Linked DNA regions of Homo sapiens: region 1 is linked to region 2. Evidence: promoter capture Hi-C in human tissues and cell types (Jung and others, 2019). All regions are on one chromosome and are shown on one strand. The core of a region is centred on a gene start or on the middle of the fragment in contact, and the rest is flanking DNA. Distances in the headings are between cores, read along the strand shown. Region 1 holds the start of LOC124905088 (a long non-coding RNA gene). Region 2 holds the start of SMARCB1 (SWI/SNF related BAF chromatin remodeling complex subunit B1).

What was found. Contacts are between HindIII fragments. The study calls those that stand out against the background at their distance.
Region 1: a contact is called between a fragment that was not itself captured here and the fragment with the promoter of SMARCB1 in region 2, in 1 of the 25 tissues and cell types used here (spleen).

The regions. Positions count from the first base shown.
Region 1 is chr22:23,731,961-23,738,132 of GRCh38, forward strand. LOC124905088 (a long non-coding RNA gene) reads right to left here and starts at 1,642. Exons shown (of 2, transcript XR_007068020.1): 1 at 1,174-1,642. The HindIII fragment of the contact is 4,384 bases long and covers 219-4,602 here.
Region 2 is chr22:23,783,151-23,789,993 of GRCh38, forward strand. It overlaps SMARCB1 (SWI/SNF related BAF chromatin remodeling complex subunit B1), which reads left to right and starts at 3,816. Exons shown (of 9, transcript NM_003073.5): 1 at 3,816-4,112. The coding sequence starts at 4,020. MMP11 (matrix metallopeptidase 11) reads left to right here. Exons shown (of 8, transcript NM_005940.5): 8 at 261-1,166. The coding sequence ends at 394. The HindIII fragment of the contact is 20,978 bases long and covers 1-6,843 here.

The DNA of each region.
Region 1 (6,172 bases), core at 1,161-3,660, 53 kb before region 2:
TAAACAGGAGGAATGAGGGGCACATAATGTGTTTCTCGGTTCCACCTGATATAAATTCTTATCTGTAGCCTGAGAGCAGCATAGCAAGATCCCATCTCTACAAAAAAATACAAAAACTAGCCAGGAGTGCTGGTGCACACCTGTGGTCCCAGCTACTTAAGAGGTTGAGGCACAAGGATCTTGAGCCCAGATTGAGGCTGCGTAAGCTGAGATCACACCACTGCACTCCAGCCTGGGTGACAGAGTGAGACCCTGTCTCTAAATAAATAAATTAGCATGTGTTCCACTCACCTTCTCACATCTCCCTGATTAATCTTTGAAATTTGGCATAATCTGAAATTACCACTGAGCAGATATGGTGGCTCACGCCTGTAATCCCAGCACTTTGGGAGGCCAAGTCTGGAGGATCACTTGAGCCTAGGAGTTTGAGAGAAGCCTGGGCAACAGAGTGGGGCCCCATCTATAATAAAAATGTCGTTAAAGGTCAGGCGCAGTGGCTTATGCCTGTAATCCCAACATTTTGGGAGGCCAAGGCGGGCGGATCACGAGGTCAGGAGATCGAGACCATCCTGGGCAACATGGTGAAACCCTGTCCCTACAGGCGTGGTGCACGCCTGTAATCCCAGCTACTGGGGAGGCTGAGGCGGGGAATTTCTTGAACCCAGGAGGCAGAGGTTGCAGTAAGCTGAGATCGCACCACTGCACTCCAGCCTGGCAACAGAGTGAGACTGTGTCTCAAAAAAAAAAAAAAAAAAGTTGTTAAAATCAGCCGGGTGGCATGTGCACATAGTCCCAGCCACCTTGGAGGCTGAGGTAGGAGGATCGTTTGACCCCAGGTGTTTGAGGCTGCAGAGAGCTATGATCGCACCGCTTCACTCCAGCCTGGGCACCAGAGTGAGACTCTCTCTCAAAATAAAAAGAAAAAAGAAACAAATTACTTTGTTTATTTCTCTGAATGCCTGTGGTCTGCAATTCTGCAGCCTTTGCCTCCCAAGTAGCTGGGACTATAGGCGTGCACCACCATGCCCAGCTAATTTTTGTATTTTCAGTAGAGACAAGGTTTCGCCATGTTGGCCAGTCTGGTCCCGAACTCCTGGGCTCAAGCAATCCTCCCACCTCAGCCTCCCAAAGTGCTGGGATTACAGGTGTGAGCAACTGGCGCCCAGCCAATACCTGAAGTTCCAGCTCATCCATATTAACTGCTGGAGTATGTTCCATGGTGTGGATTCACCACTATCCTTTTCCTGTTGAGCATTTAGGCTGTTTTCATTTTTCACTTGTTCAATCAATGCTGCCATGTACACTCCAGCAGTACACTGCAGTAGTGGCTTGTGTGAGATTTCTCCAGGTGTGTCCTAGGGTTGGAGCTGCTGGGTTGCAGGGTCTGTTCATCTCCAAGGAGGTTGTCCACACCAGGGCTTTTACCGCCAGCTGCCTCACAATAGAGAAGCATCCAGTCACCAGGGCCTCCCTTGGCCCCATGCAGGTCCGGGTGTCCACCCCAATCAACAGTTTTGCTTATTTCTGGTCCACAAAAAGGTTTCAGTTATTTTGATCTTGGCTAGACCTTTTGGGGGTCTTTTTTTTTTCCTTGAGATGTAGTTTTGCTCTTGTTGCCCAGGCTGGAGTGCAATGGTGCAACCTTGGCTCACTGCAACCTCCACATCCCGGGTTCAAGTGATTCCCTTGCCTCAGCCTCCCAAGTAGCTGGTATTACAGAGGCCCGCCACCACACTTGGCTAATTTTTTTGTATTTTTAGTAGAGACGGGGTCTCACAACGTTGGTCAGGCTGGTCTCAAACTCCTGACCTCAGGTGATCCACCCACCTTGGCCTCCCAAAGTGCTGGGATTACAGGCATGAGTCAGCGTGCTCAGCCTATTATTACTGTAATAATATTTGTCATGCTGATCTATGACCGGTGATCCTTGATGTTACTATTGTATCAGTGCAAAAGTAATTGTGGGTTTTGTCATTAAAAGTAATGGCACTAGGCTGGGCCCTGCTCAGTAGCTTATTTGGTAAGCCGGTGGGTCCTGAAAGTTTGCTTTTTTTTTTTTTTTTTTTTTGGATATGAAGTCTCATTGTCACTAGGCTGGAGTGCAGTGGTGCGATCTCGGCTCACTGCAACCTCCGTCTCCCGGGTTCAAGCAATTCTTCTGCCTCAGCCTCCTGAGTAGCTGGGACTACAGGTGTGTGCCACCACGCCCAGCTAATTTTTTTGTATTTTTATTAGAGATGGGGTTTCTCCATGTTGGTCAGGCTGGTCTCGAACTCCCGACCTCAGGTGATCCGCCTGCCTCGGCGTCGCAAAGTGCTAGGATTACAGGTGTCAGCCACCACGACCAGCCGAAAGTTTGCATTTCTAGCAAGTTCCTGGGCAATAATTATGATGGCCAAGAATGACAGTCTGAGAACGACTGCTCTGGAAGATTTTATCTGTGACCCAGAGCTTTGACCCTTTTGGGGATTTGGTGTGTCATGTCCTTACTGCTGGAGTTTGCTTTAGTTAACAAAATCTGTCATTGCTCCCAAATCACTTGGTAGGGGTTATTCATTCTTCCTTGAGTTGAGCTTCTTTATCTTTGCTGTTAATAAAATGTAAGTTTCAAACATTTCTTTTTTCTTTTAGGGACAGGGTCTTGCTCTGTTACCCAGGCTGGAGTGCAGTGGTGCCATCACAGCTCACTGCAGCCTCCCACTGCTGGGTGTGGTGGTGGGCGCCTGTAGTCGTAGCTACACAGGAGGCTGAGGCAGGAGAATCGCTTGAACCTGGGAGGCGGAGGTTGCAGTGAGCCGAGATCGTGCCACTGCACTCCAGCCTGGGCGACAGAGTGAGACTCTGTCTCAAAAAAAAAAAAAAAAGAAAGAAAGGAAGGAAGCAAGGAAGGAAACAGAAAAGAAATGAAGCCTGACTTCAAGAAGTTCCAACATAGCATGGAGGAGGAGTGCAGGGAGCACGAGGGCGTGTGGGGGGGCGTCTCTGTTGGGAACTCAGGGAAGATGTTCTTGATCTGATTAATTATTCAACCAAAATGACAGGCTGGATTCTAGGCACTGGGAGTACCCTGAAGGGGCTTCTAGTAAACCTGTCCTCTGCATTGGGTCTTGGAAGATAGGGGGAATTTGCCCAAGGAAGAAGGGGAAAAGAACATTGCAGGCAGAGGGAGAAGTCTGGACAAAAAGGGTGACTGGCCTGCTTGAAGAACAGGAAGTCATCCAAGTGGCTATAACTATAACAAAAGGTAGGGAGGAGACGTGGAAAGAGTTTGGGGGAAGGCTGTGAAGAGCTTTGAATGTCAAGAGAGGGAGTTTGATCTTGGTCCTTTAGGTCATAGGGAGCCCCAGTCAATTTTAAAATCAGAAGAGCCAAATTTATTTTATTTTATTTTTATTTATTTATTTATTTTTAGACGGAGTTTCGCTCTTGTTGCCCAGGCTGGAGTGCAATGGCATGGTCCGGGCTCACTGCAACCTCTGCCTCCCAGGTTCAAGCGATTCTCCTGCCTCAGTCTCCCAAGTAGCTGGGATTACAGGCATGCGCCACCACGCCCAGCTAATTTTGTATTTTTAGTAAAGATGGGGTTTCTCAATGTTGGTCAGGCTGGTCTCAAACTCCTGACCTCAGGTGATCCACCCCCCTCGGCCTCCTAAAGTGCTGGGATTACAGGTGTGAGCCACTGCTCCCGGCCAAAACCCCATCTTAAAAAAGAAAGAAAGGAAGGAAGGAAGATAAATCTAGCTATAGTATTGAGCTATATGGGATGGAACAGAGGGAGAAAAAGAGACCAATGGCTGGAATGTGTTGTGGTTTGACGATTTCTAGCCCTGGCTCAACTTAAGAATGGAATTACTTGGAGTTCCCAGAATGGATCCAACTGTTTCAAGCCTTCCTAAATGCTCTTCCCTGTGCCTGGGATGCCCTTCCCTCAGTGTCGGTCTTGCTACCTCCCATTCATTCATCAGTATTCTAGCCAAACATCATCAATGTCAGGTAGGCTCCCAGTTGATCCAGGTGTCCAACTCTGGGCTCCCATGTGATCCTGAGTAGTACGGGCATTTAGCGATCTTTTCCTGATTTGGGAGCACTGTAGTAGTGCCTTCTGGGCCTTCTCCACCACCCAAGTGGTAAGCTCCTTGCAAGCAAAGCTTCGTCTGACACATTTTAGTGTCCTGACTCCAAGCCCTCTCCTGTCTTCCCCCACAGAAGCCCTAGAACTGGGCTGCAGCTGACCACTGGGAAGACAGGAAAGACTGTGAGACCAACTGTATGCCATGTGGTCCTGAAAAATGCGAAAATGGAGTGGCAAGTCCTGAGAGCCACCAGCTAGTGTCTGAGGCCTGGCATCCCTTTCTGGGAGGCCTCGTGTGAAAGCCAGTGGCATTCTGCAGATGTGAGGTCGTACTTCTGAATACGCAGCAAAATCCTGGGGCCAAATGCTTTGACAGATGAATTGAGGCTAGAAAGAGAGTTGGAGAAGTGGTTTGACAGCAGGGCTGTAACCACAATACCTAACATGGGTAAGTCACCAGGTGGCAGGCTCTGAGCTAAAATTCATCTCATTGCATCTTCATGACAGTACTGTTTATACATAAAGAAACAGAAGCTGGCCGGGCATGGTGGCTCACGCCTGTAATCCCAGCACTTTGGGAGGCCGAGGCGGGTGGATCACCTGAGGTAGGGAGTTTGAGACCAGCCTGACCAACACGGAGAAACCCCGTCTCTAATAAAAATACAAAATAAGCTGGGCATGGTGGCGCATGCCTATAACCCCAGCTACTTGGGAGGCTGAGGCAAGAGAATCGCTTGAACCCGGGAGGCAGAGGTTGTGGTGAGCCGAGATCTTGCCATTGTACTCCAGCCTGGGCAACAAGAGCAAAACTCTGTCTCCAAAAAAACAAAAGAAAAAAAGAAAAAAAAAAAAAACAGAAGCTGCAAAGGGTTAGGGGTTAGAGGACATGCACACAGGCACCCAGGTAGAAGGGGACACTCAGTCTGGCTGCCCAGATGACAGAAGAGAGATTGTCAGTCCAGGTTTCTTTGCAGCAAACAGCAAGCTTGCAAGCTTGGTATGTGCGGAGGCCACGCTGTAGGTATGGGGAAGAGAACTCAGGAAGAGGAGAAAGACAGGAAAGCAGCATAAAGGCTTGCAAAAAAATTAAAAACAAATAAAAAGCAGATGAGTCAAAAGAGTCTGCAGCTGAGTCCCTGACAGTCGACACTGAAATGGACATAAGCCTTTATCCTGAGGAAGCATCCTTGGCATTAAAGACTCATAGGAGGCCCAGGCGCAGTGGCTCATGTCTGTAATCCCAGCACTTTGGGAGGCTGAGGCTGGTGGATCACCTGAGGTCAGGAGATAGAGACCGGCCTGGCGAACATGGGGAAACCATGCCTCTACTAAAAATACAAAATTAGCAGGGCATGGTGGCGCATGCCTGTTATCCCAGCTGTTATCCCAGCTACTTGGGAGGCCGAGGCAAGAGAATCGCTTGAACCTGGGAGGTGGAGGTTGCAGTGAGCTGAGATCACGCCACTGCACTCTAGCCTGGCAACAGAGTGAGACTCCGTCCCCCAAAAAAAAAAAAAAAAAATTAGCCAGGTGCAATGGCGCGTGCCTGTAATCTCAGCTACTTTGGAGGCTGAGGCAGGAGAATCGCTTGATCCTGGTTGCAGTGAGCCGAGATCGCACCACTGCACTCCAGCCTGGGCTACAGAGCAAGACTTCATCTCAAAAAAAAAAAAAAAGAAAGAAAGAAATACTTCAAAACACTAATAGTGTAATAATCAACTGCACCTGATAGTTTGCTAAGCATGTTTGCATTCCTTATACCACTGAGGCCCCCAAGGCTGTGAGTGTCATCATTCCCCCATGTTATAGCTTAGGACCCTGAAGTCAGAGGCTGTAACTTGAGGAATGGGCTCAGGGCAGATCTTGGCACTGAACCCAAATGTGACAAGAAGAGAGACAGGTGGGCCCAATGGCAGACCTCTAGTCTATCCAGAAATGACACTCCACATATGGTTAATAACTCCTAGAGATGGGAGTGAGGGGTGAGCATGGCTTTTTGAGGTTAAATTAGTTAATATATATTAAAATATTAAAATGAAAATAAATTATGCCTTGCTCAATAGTATTAATGATAGAACTTCTCGTACAAAAATAAATTAC
Region 2 (6,843 bases), core at 2,566-5,065:
GACTCAGGCCTCTGAGGCTCTGGGTACCTGTCAGGCTGGGTATTAGCCCAGCCCAGATTCCGGGGCAGGCAGAAGGGCTCCCTAGAGGGAAGAGAGGTTCTGAAAGGCCGGCCCTGGATCCTGCAGGACTCGAGGAACTCAGCAGTGGCCAAGGGCTTCCCACTCAGCCCTCCCTTAGTGCCCATCCCTGGGCACAGCCTGACAGGCAGGAGTAGGGCCCAGTGTCCGCTCGCCCAGGCTTGACCACCTTCTCTTCTCAGGCTATGCCTACTTCCTGCGCGGCCGCCTCTACTGGAAGTTTGACCCTGTGAAGGTGAAGGCTCTGGAAGGCTTCCCCCGTCTCGTGGGTCCTGACTTCTTTGGCTGTGCCGAGCCTGCCAACACTTTCCTCTGACCATGGCTTGGATGCCCTCAGGGGTGCTGACCCCTGCCAGGCCACGAATATCAGGCTAGAGACCCATGGCCATCTTTGTGGCTGTGGGCACCAGGCATGGGACTGAGCCCATGTCTCCTCAGGGGGATGGGGTGGGGTACAACCACCATGACAACTGCCGGGAGGGCCACGCAGGTCGTGGTCACCTGCCAGCGACTGTCTCAGACTGGGCAGGGAGGCTTTGGCATGACTTAAGAGGAAGGGCAGTCTTGGGCCCGCTATGCAGGTCCTGGCAAACCTGGCTGCCCTGTCTCCATCCCTGTCCCTCAGGGTAGCACCATGGCAGGACTGGGGGAACTGGAGTGTCCTTGCTGTATCCCTGTTGTGAGGTTCCTTCCAGGGGCTGGCACTGAAGCAAGGGTGCTGGGGCCCCATGGCCTTCAGCCCTGGCTGAGCAACTGGGCTGTAGGGCAGGGCCACTTCCTGAGGTCAGGTCTTGGTAGGTGCCTGCATCTGTCTGCCTTCTGGCTGACAATCCTGGAAATCTGTTCTCCAGAATCCAGGCCAAAAAGTTCACAGTCAAATGGGGAGGGGTATTCTTCATGCAGGAGACCCCAGGCCCTGGAGGCTGCAACATACCTCAATCCTGTCCCAGGCCGGATCCTCCTGAAGCCCTTTTCGCAGCACTGCTATCCTCCAAAGCCATTGTAAATGTGTGTACAGTGTGTATAAACCTTCTTCTTCTTTTTTTTTTTTTAAACTGAGGATTGTCATTAAACACAGTTGTTTTCTACCTGCCTGCTTGGTCTCCTTTTGTGAATGTTCAGCCAGGATGGGGAGGCCTGGCCACTGTCCAGCCCTATCCTGGGAGCCAGGGTCGAAGTCCACCACCCCCAAGCCTCTGGCCCTTGGGGCTGGGCACAGTGCTCAGGGCTCCTTCTGCTCCATTTCTACATCACATTTTGCTACAGTGGCTTCTTAACTGGCTCCCCACTTTCCTACTTGTCCCCTCTGTTCATCCTCCAGAGTGGTGGTTTATCTGCTCATGCCACAGCCCAGCCTGCCATACATAGCTGTGGTTTCTGCATCCGTAGGCTCAACTAACCTCGGGTAGAAAAAACAATGTTTAAAAAAAGGATGCGGACGGGCGCAGTGGCTCGTGCCTGTAATCCCAGTTCTTTGGGAGGCCGAGGTGTGTGGATCACCTGAGGTCAGAAGTTTGAGACCAGTCTGGCCAACATGGTGAAAACCCATCTCTACTAAATATACAAAAATTAGTTGGGTGTGGTGGCTCATGCCTGTAATCCCAGCTACTTGGGAGGCTGAGGCAGGAGAATCACTTGAACGTGGAGGCAGAGGTTACAGTGAGCTGAGATAGTGCCATTGCACTCCAGCCTGGGTGACAAGAGCAAAATTCCGTCTAAAAAAATAATAAAGTAAATAAATAGGCTGGGTGCAGTGGCTCATGCCTGTAATCCCAGCACTTTGGGAGGCTGAGGCCAGCAGATCACGAGGTCGGGAGATCGAGACCATCCTGGCTAACACCATGAAACCCCGTCTCTACTAAAAATACAAAAAATTAGCCAGGCGTGGTGGCGGGCGCCTGTAGTCCCAGCTACTCGGAAGGCTGAGGCAGGAGAATGGCGTGAACCCAGGAGGCGGTGCTTGCAGTGAGCCCAGATCATGCCACTGCACTCCAGCCTGGACGACAGAGCAAGACTCTGTCTCAATAAAATAAGTAAATAAATAAATAAATAAATAAATAAATAAGGGATGGTTACCTCTGTACTGAACATGTACGGACTTTTTTCCCTATCATTGTTCCCTAAACAATAGTATAACAACTATTTATATAACATTTGCATTGTATTAGGTAGTATAAGGAATCTAGAGATGATTTAAGGTATACAGGAAAGTGTGTGTAGGTTATATGCAAGTATGACACCATTTTATATAATGGACTTGAGCATCTGTGGACTTTATTATCTGCAGGGGGTCCTGGAACCAATTCCCATGGATACTGAGGGATGACTGTACTTTGGTTTCCCACCACTGTGAGGATACAGAACAAAGCAACTTCAGTCACTGCCCTTCCCAACTCTCCAGTGTCTCCTTGCCCTACCTTCCAGCCCCATGTGTGTCTTCGTAATAGCATAGTTGCATTTTTTTTTTTTTTAAGAGAGGCAGGGTCTCCCTTTGTTGCCCAGGCTGCAGTGCAGTGGTGCAATCAGCTCACTATAACCTTGAACTCCTGGGCTCAAGGGATCTTCCCCTCTCCACTTCCCAAGTAGCTGGGGCTACAGGTGCACACCGCCATGCCACACCCAGCTTATTTATTTTAGAATTTTTGTAGAGACAGGGTCTTGCTGTCTTGTCCAGTCTGGTCTCAAACTCCTGGCTTCAAGTGATCCTCCCTGCCTTGGCCTCCTAAAGAGTTGGGATTACAAGGCCGGGCGCAGTGGCTCACACCTGTAATCCCAGCACTTTGGGAGGCCGAGGGGGGCGGATCACGAGGTCAGGAGATCGAGACCATCCTGGCTAACATGGTGAAACCCTGTCTCTACTAAAAATACAAAAAATTAGCTGGGCGTGGTGGCGGGTGCCTGTAGTCCCAGCTACTTGGGAGGCTGAGGCAGGAGACTCCAGCCTCAAAAAAAAAAAAAAGAGTTGGGATTACAGGCATGAGCCGCTGAGCCCAGCCACAGCTGCAATTTCATTAGATTGAACGGTGTGAAATCATCAGTAGTGGGCCACTGTTTTACTCCCTGCATTATTCAATCATGATTGCTTTCAGACTTTCATTAGTTTCACTAGCTTCGCGCTGTAAGAGCCAAGAGGCAGAGCCACAGGGCTGGGCTGCCTGGTTTCACTCCCCACTGCAGGGCTCGGTTAAGCAGAGTGTAGGCTAAGAGAGGAATGGAGAAGGTGGAAGGTGTCTCTCCCTTCCAACGCTCATCTGATGCACCAGCCAAACCAAATACCACCTGGGCCTTTGAACATTGCCAAGCCTCATCCGCTGTTGTCATTTTGCCCACCTCCACAGCTGCAGGGACAGCCGTAGGCCCGGAACTGGGATATCTCTTCCTAGGGGCCTGCCTATCTGCTCAGCTGCACTGCGTTTTAGGGGTGGGGAAGCTAAGGCACGAGATTGGGGTCCCAAAGCATGCCCAGACCACCCAGGCTTCCAGATACTAGGTCCTCCTCCTTCAGGCCTCACTTCGTTGCTTTTCCCCTGGGCTCAGTTCCAGTCCTGGCTGTAAGACTGGGAAAGCCACTGCTTGAGTCAGGACCTCATTGGCTATTTTTGTCCGTGAGAAGTCCTCTACACCACGACTTGGGAGGCAGCCTGGGAGAAAGAGAAATTAGTCGTGGCTCCTTTAAGGGGTCCGCGGAGGCGCGCCCGGCCTTTTGTTTGAGCGGCGGCGCGCGCGTCAGCGTCAACGCCAGCGCCTGCGCACTGAGGGCGGCCTGGTCGTCGTCTGCGGCGGCGGCGGCGGCTGAGGAGCCCGGCTGAGGCGCCAGTACCCGGCCCGGTCCGCATTTCGCCTTCCGGCTTCGGTTTCCCTCGGCCCAGCACGCCCCGGCCCCGCCCCAGCCCTCCTGATCCCTCGCAGCCCGGCTCCGGCCGCCCGCCTCTGCCGCCGCAATGATGATGATGGCGCTGAGCAAGACCTTCGGGCAGAAGCCCGTGAAGTTCCAGCTGGAGGACGACGGCGAGTTCTACATGATCGGCTCCGAGGTAGCCCGGGGCGCGTTCTCGCCCTCCCCGGGCTCGGCCCCGCGGGAGCCCCGGGGCGGGCCCATGCGCCGAGAGCGCGCGTCTCCATTCATCGGGGCGGGCGGGCGCGCGCGCGCGCGCTCGGGGCTGTGGGGCGTGGCCTAGTGGGCGTGTCGGGTGTGGCCCCCGCCCCCTCATCGACCTGGGATTTCCTTACTTATTTCGCCGAGGTCCGCCGCCTTCAGTGCTGCCAAGATTTTGGCGCCGCGAGGGGCCCCAGTGGTTCCGCGCTGGGTTGGTTTCCAGTCAGACGCAAAGAAACGGGATATTGAGTTAGCCCCTGCGACGCTTGGGGGACTGCACTGCTGCCTTTGACCCTTTTTAGATGTCGTAAATTTCACGTGCACCCCTCCCCGTATTGCTACTTGTGGGAACCTCAAATGGCAGGCTGGAAACCCTGGACTTAGTGAGGGCTCATCCCCATTGTGTTTGTTGCCTCTTAGGTGAGCAGTGGAGGTCTTTTGACCTTTGTTTACCGGTGAAGAAACAGATTGGAGGAAGATGTTTGCTTTTGGGTGAATAAGGGCCCCATGCCTAAGCTAGATCTTTCAGCAGTTCTGAAGCGATTGACACTTTCCATATCTGTGAACTGATTCTGAATTATTACAGGGGAAAGAGCCTAAGGATGTTTAACCCTTAACTAGAGTGGCTGCATTTTGTTGCATCAACTGGATGACTGACTTCAGGAAAACTCTACTGGCCTTTGAATGGGTGTTTGTTCCAAGTCTATTAGGTTCTTGTTTTTTGTTTTTTATAGAGACAGGGTCTGGCTATGTTGCGCAGGCAGGTCTCCAACTCCTGGGCTCAAGCAGTCTGCCCGTCTGGGTCTCCCAAAGTGCTAGGATTACAGGCATGAGCCACCACACCCGGCCATATATTAGGTTTTTACAGATTGTCTCAAACTAGCCTTTTTTGCTCCAAAGGCAGTCCCCAGCTAGTATATGTTACCTTTTTAAAAAAATTATGGATATACAGTTCAGATGTACAAATGTCAAGCAGTAGAATCTCATGTAAGGAAGTAAGTGCCAATCCTGGAGAATTAAAGCTATCATGAAATGCCAAGAGTTTCTTCTCCTTATAGCAGTTTTTAGTATCATATTCCAGCATTTTATTCGTACTTTATTTTCTTTTATTTTTGAAAAAAGATCTCACTTTGTGCAGTGGTGTGATCTCGGCTCACTGCAGCCTTGACCTCCTGGGCTCAAGCGATCCTCCTGCCTCAGCCTCCCAAGTACCTGGGACTACAGGTGTGCACCACCGTGCCCGACTAATTTTTGTATTTTTTGTAGAGACAGGGTTTTGCCATGTTGCCCAGGCTGGTCTTGAACTCCTGGGCTCAAGTGATCCTTGCACCTCAGCCTCTCAAAGTGCTGGAATGACAGGTGTGAGCTACTGCACTCACACTCAGCGCATTCATACTTTTTAAACTTGTGGGTTTTATCCTTCACAATTGAGCATAGCATGAATGAATGAAGCCTCAAGATGGTCACACTGAGTCCCATGGATGAGACTAAGGTCAATAGCATCAGAACTTTAGTGTTAGCATTTTCCACCATTTTTTTTTTCTGGACGAGGTTTGACTCTATCACCCAGGCTGGAGTGTAGTGGTGTAATCTCGGCTCACTGCAACCTCCGCCTCCCAGGCTCAAGCCGTCCTCCCACCTCAGTCTCCCAAGTAGCTGGGACTACACGCACACACCACCACACCCGGCTAATTTTTATATTTTTAGTAAAGATGGGGTTTTACCATATTGTCCAGGCTGGTCTTAAACTTGTGAGCTCAAGTGATCTGCCCGCCTCGGCCTCCCAAAGTGCTCGATTATAGGCGTGAGCCACTGTGCCTGGCCTCCACTAATTTTTATAAAACAAAAAATATAGGATTCAATAAAATTTTCACGTTGTCACTTAAATTACAACTGTTCAAAGATGCCAGTGCTGGGGAGGTAGAGCCAGTGCCTGTCCATCTGCCACAGTTCAGAATGGTCCTCATTGGCCAGTAGGCACCTGCCTAACTGCAGAATGCAAAAGGTGTCAAATTTCAGCCTGTGATACTAGGCGAGTTGTTTACCTGATCTAATGGGTGTAAAAGTAATCAGTTTGGCTCTAAGTAGGTGACACTTCAAAAGAAAGCTTTCATTTATTAGTTGGAGCAAATTGAGAAGCTGTGCGTGGCCAAGTGGGAAGAACCTTGGGAGGCCTGGTTCCAGCCCTGCTCTGCCTTGCTGTCGTGTTTCTCATGTGTATAATGTGATGCTTAGACTAGATGGTCTCCAAGATCTTCCCCAAAACACATTTTAGTTTCTAGAAAGCTAATTACAGTCTTGTCTTTCAGCCCCTTGACTCCTGGGCCTCCCAGTAAGAATAATCTTCCTGAGACCCAGGCTGTAAGAGACTCAGTTGGAGAGGCAGTTTGTTCTTTTGGGCCTGACTTAATCATCAGACCTTCGGAGTTTAGGGAAGAGTTCAAGGTCAGAGCTCTATTGAAATTCAGTAGCTCCAGTGATAGTAGTGGATGGACGGTCTCAGCCCACTGCCCTGTGGAAAACAGGCACTGTATTCAGAGAGGTGGGCCAGCCATAGCAACATACCCAGTGCCTCCATGCGCCATCTGTGGAGCTGTCTTGGGAAGGCATCTGCATTTACTAAGAGTGTGTGTCACTGTTCTGCCATTAACAGACAGCTGTATTTACCA